3 separate regions of the Homo sapiens genome follow, and regions 1 and 2 are each linked to region 3. The links are contacts of gene promoters, found by promoter capture Hi-C in blood cells and fetal thymus (Javierre and others, 2016). All regions are on one chromosome and are shown on one strand. Each heading gives the region's core, a stretch centred on a gene start or on the middle of the fragment in contact. The rest is flanking DNA. Distances are from core to core; before and after follow the strand shown.

Region 1 (3,716 bases), core at 673-3,172, 360 kb before region 3:
ATCTTCTGAGTTATCAAGTTTTAGAGAAGCCATATTTCCCACCACAAACAGAAAGCCTGTCTGAGGTATGAAATAGTAAAACGAAGGGAGAAAAAGAAAAAACATGATGGAAAAGAGGGAATTCTGGTGATGTCAAGATAGGGCTGCCATGAGCATCTGCACAGGTTGTGCACTGCACAACTCTCGAGGCTGCTGTTACACGGTAATCACAGTAGATTTGTGTATTGATTAAAATAATTTTCTAGTAGGCACTAGTAAAGTATTTTGAAGAAGTGGAGCCTTTTTCTAATTTGCAAACAATTGCTGCAAAGGCTAGTGACCATGCCATAATCAAGACCCTGATTTTAATCCTTGAGTCCCCAGAGCTTCTCTAGCTCGATAAGTACTTGGTGTAATTTATTATTTTGGTGAATTCCCTTTGTTGTTAAGTTCTGCTCACAGCAGAACCATTGATAACTCAGACACTCACAAGATGCATCAAGCTTATTTTCTACTTTCCAGAGCAAACCCTTAGCGCTTTTAGAAATAACAGCTCAACAATAAGAGAGAGACAGAACAACCGTTAAATGCAGACATAAGAACAAGAATAACAACAAAATATCAGTTTGGGGCCATTTGTGTAGGTGCAAGTAACGTTCCCTATCTCACTGAGCACCAAGACCTTCACTGTACTGGTCTGTGGCCTGAAAATGGTTCACCATGGTAATTAACGCAGAGAAGACATTGTGTAGACTTCATGTCCTCTTAAAATAGTTAAATTATAACTGTGTTGTTGTCTAAAAGGAAAGACCAAAATTATCTAGAGAGTTCTCATCTGTGTGGCTTAAGCTAGATGAATAACGTATCATTGTAAAAGGATAGTGTCAGCCAAGGTCCAGCCCCCAGCTGTCCCCAGTGTAGGAGGTGGCCCCACTGGCAGCATCCCTGACACCACTCTGACCTGCTCAGGACAGCTCTTTCTCACTCCCCTAAATGCCAGGAGTTTCCAGAAAAAGTCTGGGGGAGGCTGTGGGCTCTGGGGTCAGACACTCTGGGGTGGGGTCCCTTTCCAGCAAGGTGACTCTCAGCAAGTGGTTCCCCGACTCGGAGCCTCGGCTACCGCTTCTCTAAAATGGCAATGGCCATACCCACCTGGGGGGCCATTGGGAGGGTCGGGCGGGCCTGGGAATGACCCAGCACACAGTAGGTGCTCAATGAGAAGCAGCTGGCACCAAGGTGGGATCTGGGTGAGTTCAGAGCCCAGGCACGAGGGCTCAGAATCTCAGCTCGGCCTTGCTGAGTGCTTGGGCGATTCACTTCGTCTCCCAGAGCCCCAGTTTCCTCAGCTCAAACTGAGATCCCCAGGGAGTTGAAACAAGCAAGCATTCTTGAGACTGTGTGTTTCCTTGCCTGTTCTTCCTGCCAGGCAGTAAAGGGGCAGGATTGGGTCTGTCCCTGACTCGACCCCCGGAACAGGGCCTGCGGTGCTTAGTAGGCGCTTGGTAAAGACTCAGTCATTTGCTCCAGTCGGGAGGGAAGTTGGCTGGTGCCTGCTGGGGGGCTCCCCCTGCCCTTCTGACTGTGGGGAGCAGGCCCAGAGCCGACTTTGGCCAGGCCGGGGTAGAGGCCTGCTTCTGCCATCCCTGGTGGGCCCCAGCGTCTCCTCTGAATCCCCACCCTGCTCCTGAGCAAGTGCTCCCATCCCCCACCCTGCTCTGGCGGCTTGGCATAGGTGGGACACCAAGCCTGGAGCTCCCGGCTGCTCCAGCCACCCGAGCCAGCCCCACAATTGTTTTTCCACCTGGAGCGTCCAAGGAGTTGCTGGCAGCCAGGCCAGGCGGGGGAGGCGGGGGGCGGTGTTGGAGGAGACATCAGTGGGCGTGGGAGGAACAGGCTTCACCCTTTCCATCCACAGGGGTACCGGTACTGGGATAAACTGGACGGCACTGGTCAGGGCCCACTTTCCTTTGACCTTAGGTGAATGACTTAACCGCCCCAGTCTCATTTACTTCATCCATAAAATGGGGATAATATTAGTAGCTGCCTCTTGGGGTTGCTGTGAGGAATAAATGCGTCAGCTCATGTAAAGCACTCAGAACCATGCCCAGAAGCAAGTGGTCTTGATGGCAGCCCTTGCTATAGGCACTCTAGGCTGGATGCGAGGGTTCTGCCGCACACAGCTGCCTGGTGTGGGCCAGCCACGTCCACTGTCTCTGCGTACCATGTGCACCCACAGCAAGCCTCCGGAGGTGACAGCCCCTCACAGAAGCTGCAGGAAGTAGAAGCGGAGTGGGTGGCAGCTCCCTCCCTTGCTTCCTCAGCTTTCTCTCCCCTTCTTTCTTCCACCAGCCTGGCAGGTGCCCCCAGAGGCAGGGGATGGGTCCCCTGACCTCGGGGAGGACCCCCAGCCCCATCAGCCGCGGAAATGGTGGACCCGCGGGCCCTGGGCTACTGCCATGCTGCAGCCCTCGGAGGAACTGAGCAGGGACAGGGCCAGCCTGGGTCACCCGATGCAGCTGCACAGATGTCAGGCCCGGCATAGCCGAGGTGTGGTCAGGCTAGGTTCCCCTGGGCCCCGCTATGGGAACAGGCTGTCCCGACAGCCTGGCTGCCATCCCTTGCTGCTGTTGTTTGGAAGATAGAGCAGTCATCAGCCCCAGCCCCCGGCAGCCCCACCCTCCCCTCGGCTTCTGCAGCTCCCAGGCCTGGGACAGTCCCTGGCTGACCCAGGTTGTGCACTGGGTGGCCTGAGGCAGGCCCTGACCCTCTGTCGGCCTCCATCTTTTACCTCTACTGAGAAACCGGGGGCGGAGCCCTCTGTCCCTGCTGCCCTTCCAACTCAAGGCCCAGGAAAAAGGACAGGAGGCACATGGTGGGGTCCGGGGCCAGGGTGCTCACATGTGCTTAGTGAGCACCAGGAGCCACCTTAGAAGGAAGGTGAGGGATCTGTAACCTTGGTCAGGACAGCCACACAGGAACTGTCTCCTGGACCCAGGAGGAGCAGCAGGACCCAGCCTTCTAGGCAGCAAGGGAAACTGAGGCAGGAGCCCAGTTATAGGGCCTAATAAACTTGATCCAGGAGGAGGCAGCTACTGCGTGGAGACTTGGGCTCCAAGGTCCTTGTGAATCCAGGGTCCAAGACCATCGACCTCCAGCCCTACCCACTGATGGGAAGGAGGCTGCCATCTTTCCCATGCCCGCTCAAGTGAGGCTCAGGCCCCAAGCATGGCAGGCTGGTTTCAGGGGCATTGAAAATGGGTCCTGGGTTCAATCCTGCCTGTGCCACTTCCTGGCTGTGTGACCTTGGGCAGGTCCTTTCTCTCTTTTTCTCCATTTCTTCTATAAAGCGGGACAGTAATGCCACCAACACAATGCCGTAGAGGTAAAGCTTGGCTGTCATGTACACCAAAGGCTTGGTCTGCAGTCTGACCTCTGTGCCTCTGTCTTCCTCCACCTCCCCTTATCCATCCAGAGGGCCCGAGGAAGGAAGCAGGCACGGGTGGGGTTTGCTCTGGCACTTGCTTCGGAGTCCTTGGATACCTCCAGGCAAGTCCTTGATGCTTTTCCCAAACGATGCCAGCCCAGGGATGGATTCTCTGCCTATGGGAACTTGGGTCCATCCCAGGAATGTAGGCCAGACGGTGGGGAGGAGAAAGTGCAGGGTGGAGGCTCGGCCAGCGTTCTACCAAGGTCTCTCGGGCACGAGGTGAAGAGTGGGCACCCGCCTGCAGAGGCAG
Region 2 (3,928 bases), core at 625-3,124, 410 kb before region 3:
ACATTGGGTTTGGCAATAATTTCTTGGATAGGATACCAAAAGGATAGACAGCAAAAGCAATAATAGACAAATGGAATTACATCAAACTTAAACATTTCTTCACCTCAAAAAAACCAACAGAGTGAAAAGGCGACCTACAGAATAGGAGAAAATATTTACAAATCATATATATGACAAGAGGCCAAAAACCAGAATATATAAAGAAGTCCTAAAACTTAACAACAACACAATAAAAAATGAATAAGGGTCTTGAATAGACATTTCTCCAGAGAAGATATACAAATACCAACAAGCACACGAAAAGGTGCTCAGCACCACTAACTAGTAGGGAAGTGCAAATCAAAACCACAATGAAGGCTGGGCGTGGTGGCTCATGCCTGTAATCCCAATACTTTGGGAGGCTGAGGCGGGCTGATCCCCTGAGGTCAGGAGTTAGAGATCAGCTGGGCCAATATGGTGAAACCCCGTCTCTACCAAAAAATACAAAAATTAGCCGGAAGTGGTGGCACACGCCTGTAATCCCAGCTACTGGGGAGGCTGAGGTGGGACAATCACTTGAACCCGAGAGGTGGAGGTTGCAGTTAGCTGGGATAGAGACACTGCATTGCACTCCAGCCTGGGTGACACAGTGAGACCCTGTCTCAAAAATATATTTATAATAATAAAAAATTAAAAAAAACCCACAGTGAAATGTCACTTCTATTAGGAAGTGAAATGTCACACTATTAGGATTGCCACTATTGAAAAAAAAAAAAAGAAAATAACAGCTCTTGGCAAGAATGCGAAGAAATAGAACCCTTGTTCTGATGTGGGAACGCAAAATGGTATAATTGCTGTGGAAAACAGTATGATGGTTCCTAAAAAAATTAAAGATAGAATTGCCATATGATCCAGCAATCCCACTTCTGGGTACATGTCCAAAAGAAGTGAAAGCAGAGACTCCAATGGATATTTGCACGTACATGTTCATAGCAGCATTATTCACAATAGCCAAGAGGTGGAAAGAACTTAAATGTCTATTGACAGATGAATGAATACAGAAAATGTACTCTGTTCATATGATGGAATATTACTTAGCCTTAAAAGGGAAAGGAATTCTGAGCTAAGCTACGACATGGATGAATCTTGAGGACATTATGCTAAGTGAATAAGCCAGTCACAAAAGGAAAAATACTGTGTGATTCCACTTACATGAAGTACCTAGGGCAGTCAATTTCATAGACAGAAAATGGAATGGGGGGTGCCGGGGCAAAGGGGAGGGGAAAGAGCGAGTTAGTGTATAAGGAGAAGACAGTTTCAGTTTTGCAAGATAAAAAAGTCCCAGAGGGCCAGGCGTGGTGGCTCAAGCCTGTAATCCCAGCACTTCGGGAGGCTGAGGTGGGCAGATCACCTCAGGTCAGAAGTTCAAGACCATCCTGACCAACATGGTGAAACCCCATCTCTACTAAAAATACAAGAATTAGCAGGGGGTGGTGGCGGGTGCCTGTAATCCCAGCTATTCAGGAGGTTGAGGCAGGAGAATCACTTGAACTCAGGAGGTGGAGGTTGCGGTAAGCAGAGATTGTGCCATCGCACTCCAGCCTGGGCAAGAGAGTGAGACTCCATCTCAAAAAAAAAAAAAAAAAAAAAAAAAAAAGAAAAAAGAAAAAGGAAAAGAAAAAGAAAAAGAAAAAATAGTTCTAGAGACCTGTTGCACAAGGATATTTAACACTACTGAACTGTATACTTACCCATGGTTAATATGGTAAAGTTCATGATTTTTGTGTTTTTTTTTTTCGAGATGGAGTTTCGCTCTTTTTTTACCCAGGCTGGAGTGCACTGGTGTGATCTTGGCTCACTGCCCCCTGGGTTCAAGCAATTCTCCTGCCTCAGCCTCCCGAGCAGCTGGGATTGCAGGTGCCCGCCACCATGCCTGGCTAATTTTGTGTTTTTAGTAGAGATGAGGTTTCACCATGCTGTCCAGGCTGGTGTTGAACTCCTGACCTCAGGTGATCGGCCAACCTCGGCCTCCCAAAGTGCTGGGATTACAGGCATGAGCCACCGTGCCTGGCTGGTGTTTGTGTGTGTGTGTGTGTGTGTGTGTGTGTGTGTGTATGTGTGAGAGAAGTCTTGCTCTTGTGCCCCAGGCTTGAGTGCAATGGCTCGATCTCACCTCACTGCAACCTCTGCCTCCCAGGTTCAAATGATTCTCCTGCCTCTGCCTCCCAAGTAGCTGGGATTAAGGCTCCTGCCACCACGCCTGGCTAATTTTTGTATTTTTTAGCAGAGACGGAGTTTCACCATGTTGGCCAGGCTGGTCTCGAACTCCTGACGTCAGGTGATCTGCCTGCCTCGGCCTCCCAAAGTGCTGGGATTACAGACGTGAGCCACTGCGCCCGGCCTGGCTGGTTTTTACTACAGTTAAAACTCAGACACTGGTGGCCAAATCTTGTTAAATTTTCAAATGCTTCCCTTACCCTCCCATGTTGCCAAATTCATTCCTACTTGTCACTGAAGCTGCAATGTCCAGTCCATGGATGGCTTATTTCACACAGCTTCTGGTGTAGGTTCCATTAGCTGGGAAAACTTTTCAGGTGGGAGTAACATGAAGCACATTTCTTTCTGTTTGTGTGTGTGTTTTTTGTTTTTTTATTTTTTTTGTTTTTTTGAGATGTAGTCTTGCTCTGTCGCCCAGGCTGGAGTGCAGTGGCACAATCTCAGTTCACTGCAAACTCCACCTCCCGGATTTAAATGATTCTCCTTCCTCAGCCTCCCCAGTAGCTGGGATTACAGGTACCTGCCACCACGCCTGGCTAATTTTTGTATTTTTAGTAGAGATGGGGTTTCACCATGTTGCCCAGGCTGGTCACGAACTCTTGACGTCAAGTGATCCACCCTCCTCAGGCTCCCAAAGTGCTGGGATTACAGGCGTGAGCCACCTCACCCGGCCAGTCTTTAAGGTCTTGAGCTAGGTCTGGACCCATAGGCAGGTTGGATCTGGATGCTGGGCTCTGAAAGGTCACACTTAGTGGTGGAGACAGACATAAGAACAAATAATGAAGATGAAGCCCATGCAGGCTGTGTTCATCCAGGCACAAATGTTTAGTGGATGCAGATTGGTGCCAGGCACTGTGCTGGGTACATGCAGTAAACAGAGATGTCACCTCTGCCCTCTTCGAGCTTGCAACCTAGTGGAGGAAGTGAGTTAACAGGTGAGTAAACAAATATGTCTGTGTACGCATGGGTAATGGTACAAAGTCTGGTGAATACTCTGAAGGGCAAGAACAGGATGCAGCGATGGAGAACACCAGGCGTGGAGGGGTGCTGCTTACATTTGGTGGCCAGGGAAGACCTCTCCCGTCACGTAGCACAGTTATTGGCATGCAGTCCCCACCCTTCAGCGTTCACTGTTGGTGGCTTCCGACTGCATGTCCCTGTGATTCAGCCTGTGGGCTTCCTCTGGCTTCAGGGGCGTGCCTGGCCAGTGTGAGGCAAATCAGAATTGTGGGGGTTTAACATCCCTGGCAGTAGCCCTCAGCAAATGATGGACAGGAGTTAGAGGATGAATATTCCAGCCACCGGAGCCCTGCGCACCCACAGCTGTCTTCTGCTCGTTGACATACCTTGTACTGGCTCCCTTCTGTCCCTTTCTTACCCCCTCTCACTCGCTCACCAGTACTTCTGGAATCACCTTCCAAATGAACCATTTGCATCAAATCTGTGTCTCAGGGCCTCATTGTTGGGGAGCTCACACTAAGACAGAGGTGACATTTACCCCAAGGCCTGAAGGATAAGAAGGAGCTGGTTAGCTAGAGTGTTGCAGGGACAGCTGTGGTGGCTGGAAGAGCATATGTGAAGACCCCATTTGAATCTACCATTTCCCAGAAACTGAGAAAGCTATTAAAACCTCCCCCAAAAAGTTCCAGGCCCACATAGTTTTGTGGGAGAA
Region 3 (4,138 bases), core at 362-2,861:
CACTTAAAACACACCGGCAGGCTGGCGGTACTGGCGCGAGCCCCGCAGCCGCCTCTCCGCCGCTGGTCGGGCTGGCGGCCCCTGGTCGGCTCTGCACGCACCTGCTAGCGGCCGCGGCCGGACAACTTGCGAAATCCCCGCTCCAGAGACGTGGACTGGGGAAGTGACGGGGTAGGGGGGTAGTAGTGACAAAACACAAAGGGTCTGCCACGCACATCCCCTCGCCGCAGCCCCTGCGGTCCACCCCTCCTCAAAAGGGATGGTAATGGGTTCACTGCTGGGGGCTGGAGGGGCAGGGTGTGTGAGACCTACCAAGCGGGCCCTTCAGCGCCAGAACCTCTATCCATGCCCAGATCCCCCCGCCCCCACACCGCTCCGAGCCTCACACGCGTTGTCTTAAGTACAAAGGGTGACCGGCTTTGCACAAGCAGCTCCAGGACGCGTCCCGAGCTGCCCCCTCCCACCTTCCAGCCAGAGCGCCCCCGAGCCCCACCTCCACAGAAACGCTAGGTGAAGCCGGAGGGCTGCTCGCGCGCCCGGCCGCCTCTGCTGCCCAGTTCCAGGGGGCGGGGTGTCCCGCCTCTCTCTAGCGCTTGTCTCCCTCTGTGTCTCAGACCGCCTCTCGTCCCACCTTTGTGTGTGTTTGTTGGGGGTGGGACGTGCTGTCCCCTTGGCCCGGGAAGGGGCTCTGGGAGTCTAAGGGCCCCTGGAAATTGGGTGGTGCCAAGGCTCCGAGCGGCGGTTTATGTTTTTGCCAGCGAATGTCCTTCCTCCTGGGTACCTGTTCCCTGTTTGCACGGACCGGCCCCGCCAGCCACCTGGGGACTGCCCAGTCTCTAGGAACGGCTGTGCCGCGCCTCCTGAGAGAGTTCGTCTCGGGCTCCGGGGACTGAGCTCCCCGAGATTGGCTGTGGTCCTGGCTTGATGTTCCTGCTAGACCTGCTGTCCCTATGCCCGGGTCCGAAGGGTCCCCGGGATGGGCTGAACCTTTGCAGCAGCTAGCCCTCCCCCAGAGTCCCTCAGGCTGGAGCGTCCCTACCGGCTGTCTCTGGTCCTGGGGGATTCCAGACTCAGACGTCCTCAGGATGGCCAGTCCCCCTGCCTATATCTCCTGGGGTGTCCTGCGGGGGGCCTTTGTGCGTCCACCGCTCCCACACCGCACCCACCCGGCCTCTCAGAGAAGCTGTGGAAGTTGGCCGGCAGAGGCTCGCAGGCGGCACACCTCCCTCCCCGGGCCGTGCCAACTTTGTCGAAACACGCGCGGAAAGGGCGCAGGCAGCCCTTACCCGATCCGGAGGTAGACCATGCCCAGGCTGAGAAAGAGGTGGCCCAGGCAGCGCCGCGCTTTCCGGTTCATAGTCCCGATTGGCCGCCGGGGCCGCGGGCCGGGCTGTGCTGATCCCGCGGGCCGGCCCCGGCGGGGCAATCAACATAGCCCGCCCGGGAGGCGCGAGCCGAGGCGTCCCCGGGGCCGTCTGTCGGTGCGCCCGTCCGCGCGCTCCGCGCCTGAGCCTCGCCAGGAGCACGGGAGCCACGGAGCGGGAGGAGGGAGGGAGGAGCGAGCGCGGCGTGGGGCGACGCCGGGCTGCGCGCGAGCGACCGGTGCAAGTGTGCGAGACGCGGGGAGTGCGGGGGCGCTGCTGCCTCCAGCCCCCGCCCCTCCCTCCTTTCCCCCGTCCCTCCCCCGCCCCCTCCCCCGCCCGCCTCCCCGGAGCGCCCGCCCAGCGCCCCTGCGCCCGCGGGACAGGGCCGCCTGCACAAGGCGCGCGCTCGCGCCTTTCCATGCGCGCTCCCGGGGGCCCCCTCCCTGCTCCGGGGTGCAGGTGGCAGGCTGGGGAGCACAGCCCGGTTGGAGGCGGTAGGAGCCCGCTCGCCCCCCACCCGTCACTAACTTGCAGATTGCAGGGCGAGTGGGCGTCCAGAGGCTGCCCTCGGGTGGAGTGGACCAGACTCGGCCGAGAGGCCTAGTGCCTTGGTCTGCTGCCCTGCTCCCTCCAGCCCGGAACAGGGAGCTGGGGCTGACAGGGCACACCCCAGTTCCCCAACCCCAGCTTCAGGGGAGGGCGCCCCCTTTCGCGGAGCGACGGGCTGACTGGCTCAGTGTATTTCTTCCCTACTCCCACCTATTCGAGAGTGGCGGCAGGGGGTGCCCAGGTTGGGCAGCCTCCTCTGGGATCCTGCTGTTAGCCGACAGACTGAGTCGGGCTGAGGCCCAGTTGCCCCGCGCGGAACAGCAGTGGGGCGCCTGAGCCGCGGGAGCGTGAGGGGCGCAGCTGGCCGCTCAGAGCGCGCTCGCGGCGTCACCAGGCGGACGCGGCGGGTGGTGCACCTCGGCCTCGCTCCCGGGAACAGAATGCTTTGAGTGCCCTGGCCGACCCGAGGGGGCTAACACCCTTCTTTGGTGTACACCTCATCCAGTGAGCTAGGGGGAGTCTAACCGTCCCTGGAAATTGGGTGGTGCCAAGACTCCGAGCGGCAGTTTATGTTTTTGCCAGCGAATGTCCATCCTCCGGGTACCTGTTCCCTGTTTGCACGGACCGGTCCCGCCTGCCACCTGGGGGTTGCCCAGTCTCTAGGAGCGGCTGCGCCTGCGCCTCCGGAGAGTGTTCCTCTCGGGCTCCAGGGACTGAGCTCCCTGGGAGTGGCTGTGGTCCTGGCTTGGTGTTCCTGCTGGACCTGCTGTCCCTATGCCCAGGTCTGGCAAATCTGAACTCAGGTTTCAGCTGAAGACACTGAGGCTCAAGGAGGTGAAGGTGTTTGCCCAGAGTCACCAGCTAGCGAGTGGCACAACCATATGGGAAACAAAGTATGCCCAACTGTAGTAACCTCCTGCACCCAGTCCTGACTATCCTTCAAGATTGCCTTTCTAAATTACACACACACACACACACACACACACCCGAAAGCCACCATTCAGGTATTCATTCATATTCCATATTCTGTGCCAACCACGATAGTGGGCACCGTGGACACAAGGAAGAAGAAAGGCAACAGTCTTTCTTCTTGGGGCCAGGAAGGAGACAGATGATAAGTGAACAAGAACAGAGTTGCAGATAGTAGACCATTAAGCAGGGTGATGGGAGAGGGAATACTGGGTGTTGGAGGGTTAATTTTAGATCTGAGGAGGTGGCATTTGAGGTGAGGCCTGAAGGACACAGCATCAGGGGTCCAGCACTGCAGGAAGGGGACCAGCAGGTGCAAAAGCTCAGAGGTGGGCATGAGCCCCAGGGAGGAGATGGTGGGCTGCAATAGAGAGAGAGAGAAGGCCTGAGCTTGAAGGGAGATGGGGATACACAGATCCACAAAGCTGTGTGGGCACGTCAAGGAGCTTGGATTTCAGTGGTGTGTTCAGCTGGGGACATTGGAGGGATGAAGAAGGGGGTGACTGATCTGATTTGTGTGTTCAAAAGCTCCCCGTGGCTGTCCTAAGGGAACACACTGTGGGAATGGGGACAGGTGAGTAAAGTGCGCCATCAAGCAGACCAGAGAGGAGATGACAGTAGGGGTCCAGGTGAGACATTGGTAGTTTGGGTTAGGGTGGTGCTCTTAGAACATGACCACAAAATTATTTGACACTCCTCCCATGAAGAAGTGGGTTCTCTGTGCTCTGCCTGCGTGAATCTGGGTGGGCTTGTGATGGCTTCCACCAATAAGATGTAGCAGAAGTGATGCTCAAAAATTACAAGTCTTCGCGATAAAAGACAATGCAGTCTTTGTTTTGTTGGCTGGCGCACCAGTGCTGGGGCCCTGAGCCACCATGGAAGAGGCCTAGAGGCCACCATGCTGTGAGGAAGCCCAGGCATAGGCAGAGGCCACCTGTGCTTGCTCCAGCCCACAGTCCCAGGTGAGTTCAGCACTGGAGTCACCTTGCCCAGGTGCCAGAAATGTGGGTGAAGGTACCTCCACCATTATGTCATGCTGGCTTTGTGTCTGCCAAGCTAAAGCATGGTGGACAGTGGCCGTGTAGTATCCCCAGTGTACCCTGCCCAACTTCCTGAGCCCTATAACTTGTGAATATAATGATTATTTTGCCACTAAGTTTGGAGGGGATGCTTGTTACACAGCAGTTGTAACTAGGACAATAAGGGTAGAAGTGGGGTGCAGAGAGGAGAAAAGGACCCAGGATACGGGGCCTGTG

Evidence for each region. The method cuts DNA at HindIII sites, captures the fragments that hold promoters and counts their contacts. A CHiCAGO score of 5 or more calls a contact.
Region 1: a contact is called between a fragment that was not itself captured here and the fragment with the promoter of WNT7A in region 3, in 2 of 17 cell types (megakaryocytes and M2 macrophages). The highest score is 6.3, in megakaryocytes.
Region 2: a fragment that was not itself captured here is called in contact with the fragment with the promoter of WNT7A in region 3 in 1 of 17 cell types (naive CD4 T cells); the score reaches 5.4 in naive CD4 T cells.

Annotation. Positions count from the first base shown.
Region 1 is chr3:13,514,892-13,518,607 of GRCh38, forward strand. No RefSeq gene overlaps it. Among named protein-coding and RNA genes, the nearest start is that of FBLN2, 32 kb to the right of the region's middle. RefSeq lists enhancers at 1,079-2,007, 3,381-3,716. The HindIII fragment of the contact is 2,885 bases long and covers 481-3,365 here.
Region 2 is chr3:13,467,830-13,471,757 of GRCh38, forward strand. No RefSeq gene overlaps it. Among named protein-coding and RNA genes, the nearest start is that of HDAC11-AS1, 10 kb to the right of the region's middle. The HindIII fragment of the contact is 4,191 bases long and covers 1-3,928 here.
Region 3 is chr3:13,878,460-13,882,597 of GRCh38, forward strand. WNT7A (Wnt family member 7A) reads right to left here and starts at 1,612. Exons shown (of 4, transcript NM_004625.4): 1 at 1,287-1,612. The coding sequence starts at 1,357. RefSeq lists enhancers at 85-586, 1,089-1,590. The HindIII fragment of the contact is 8,507 bases long and covers 1-4,138 here.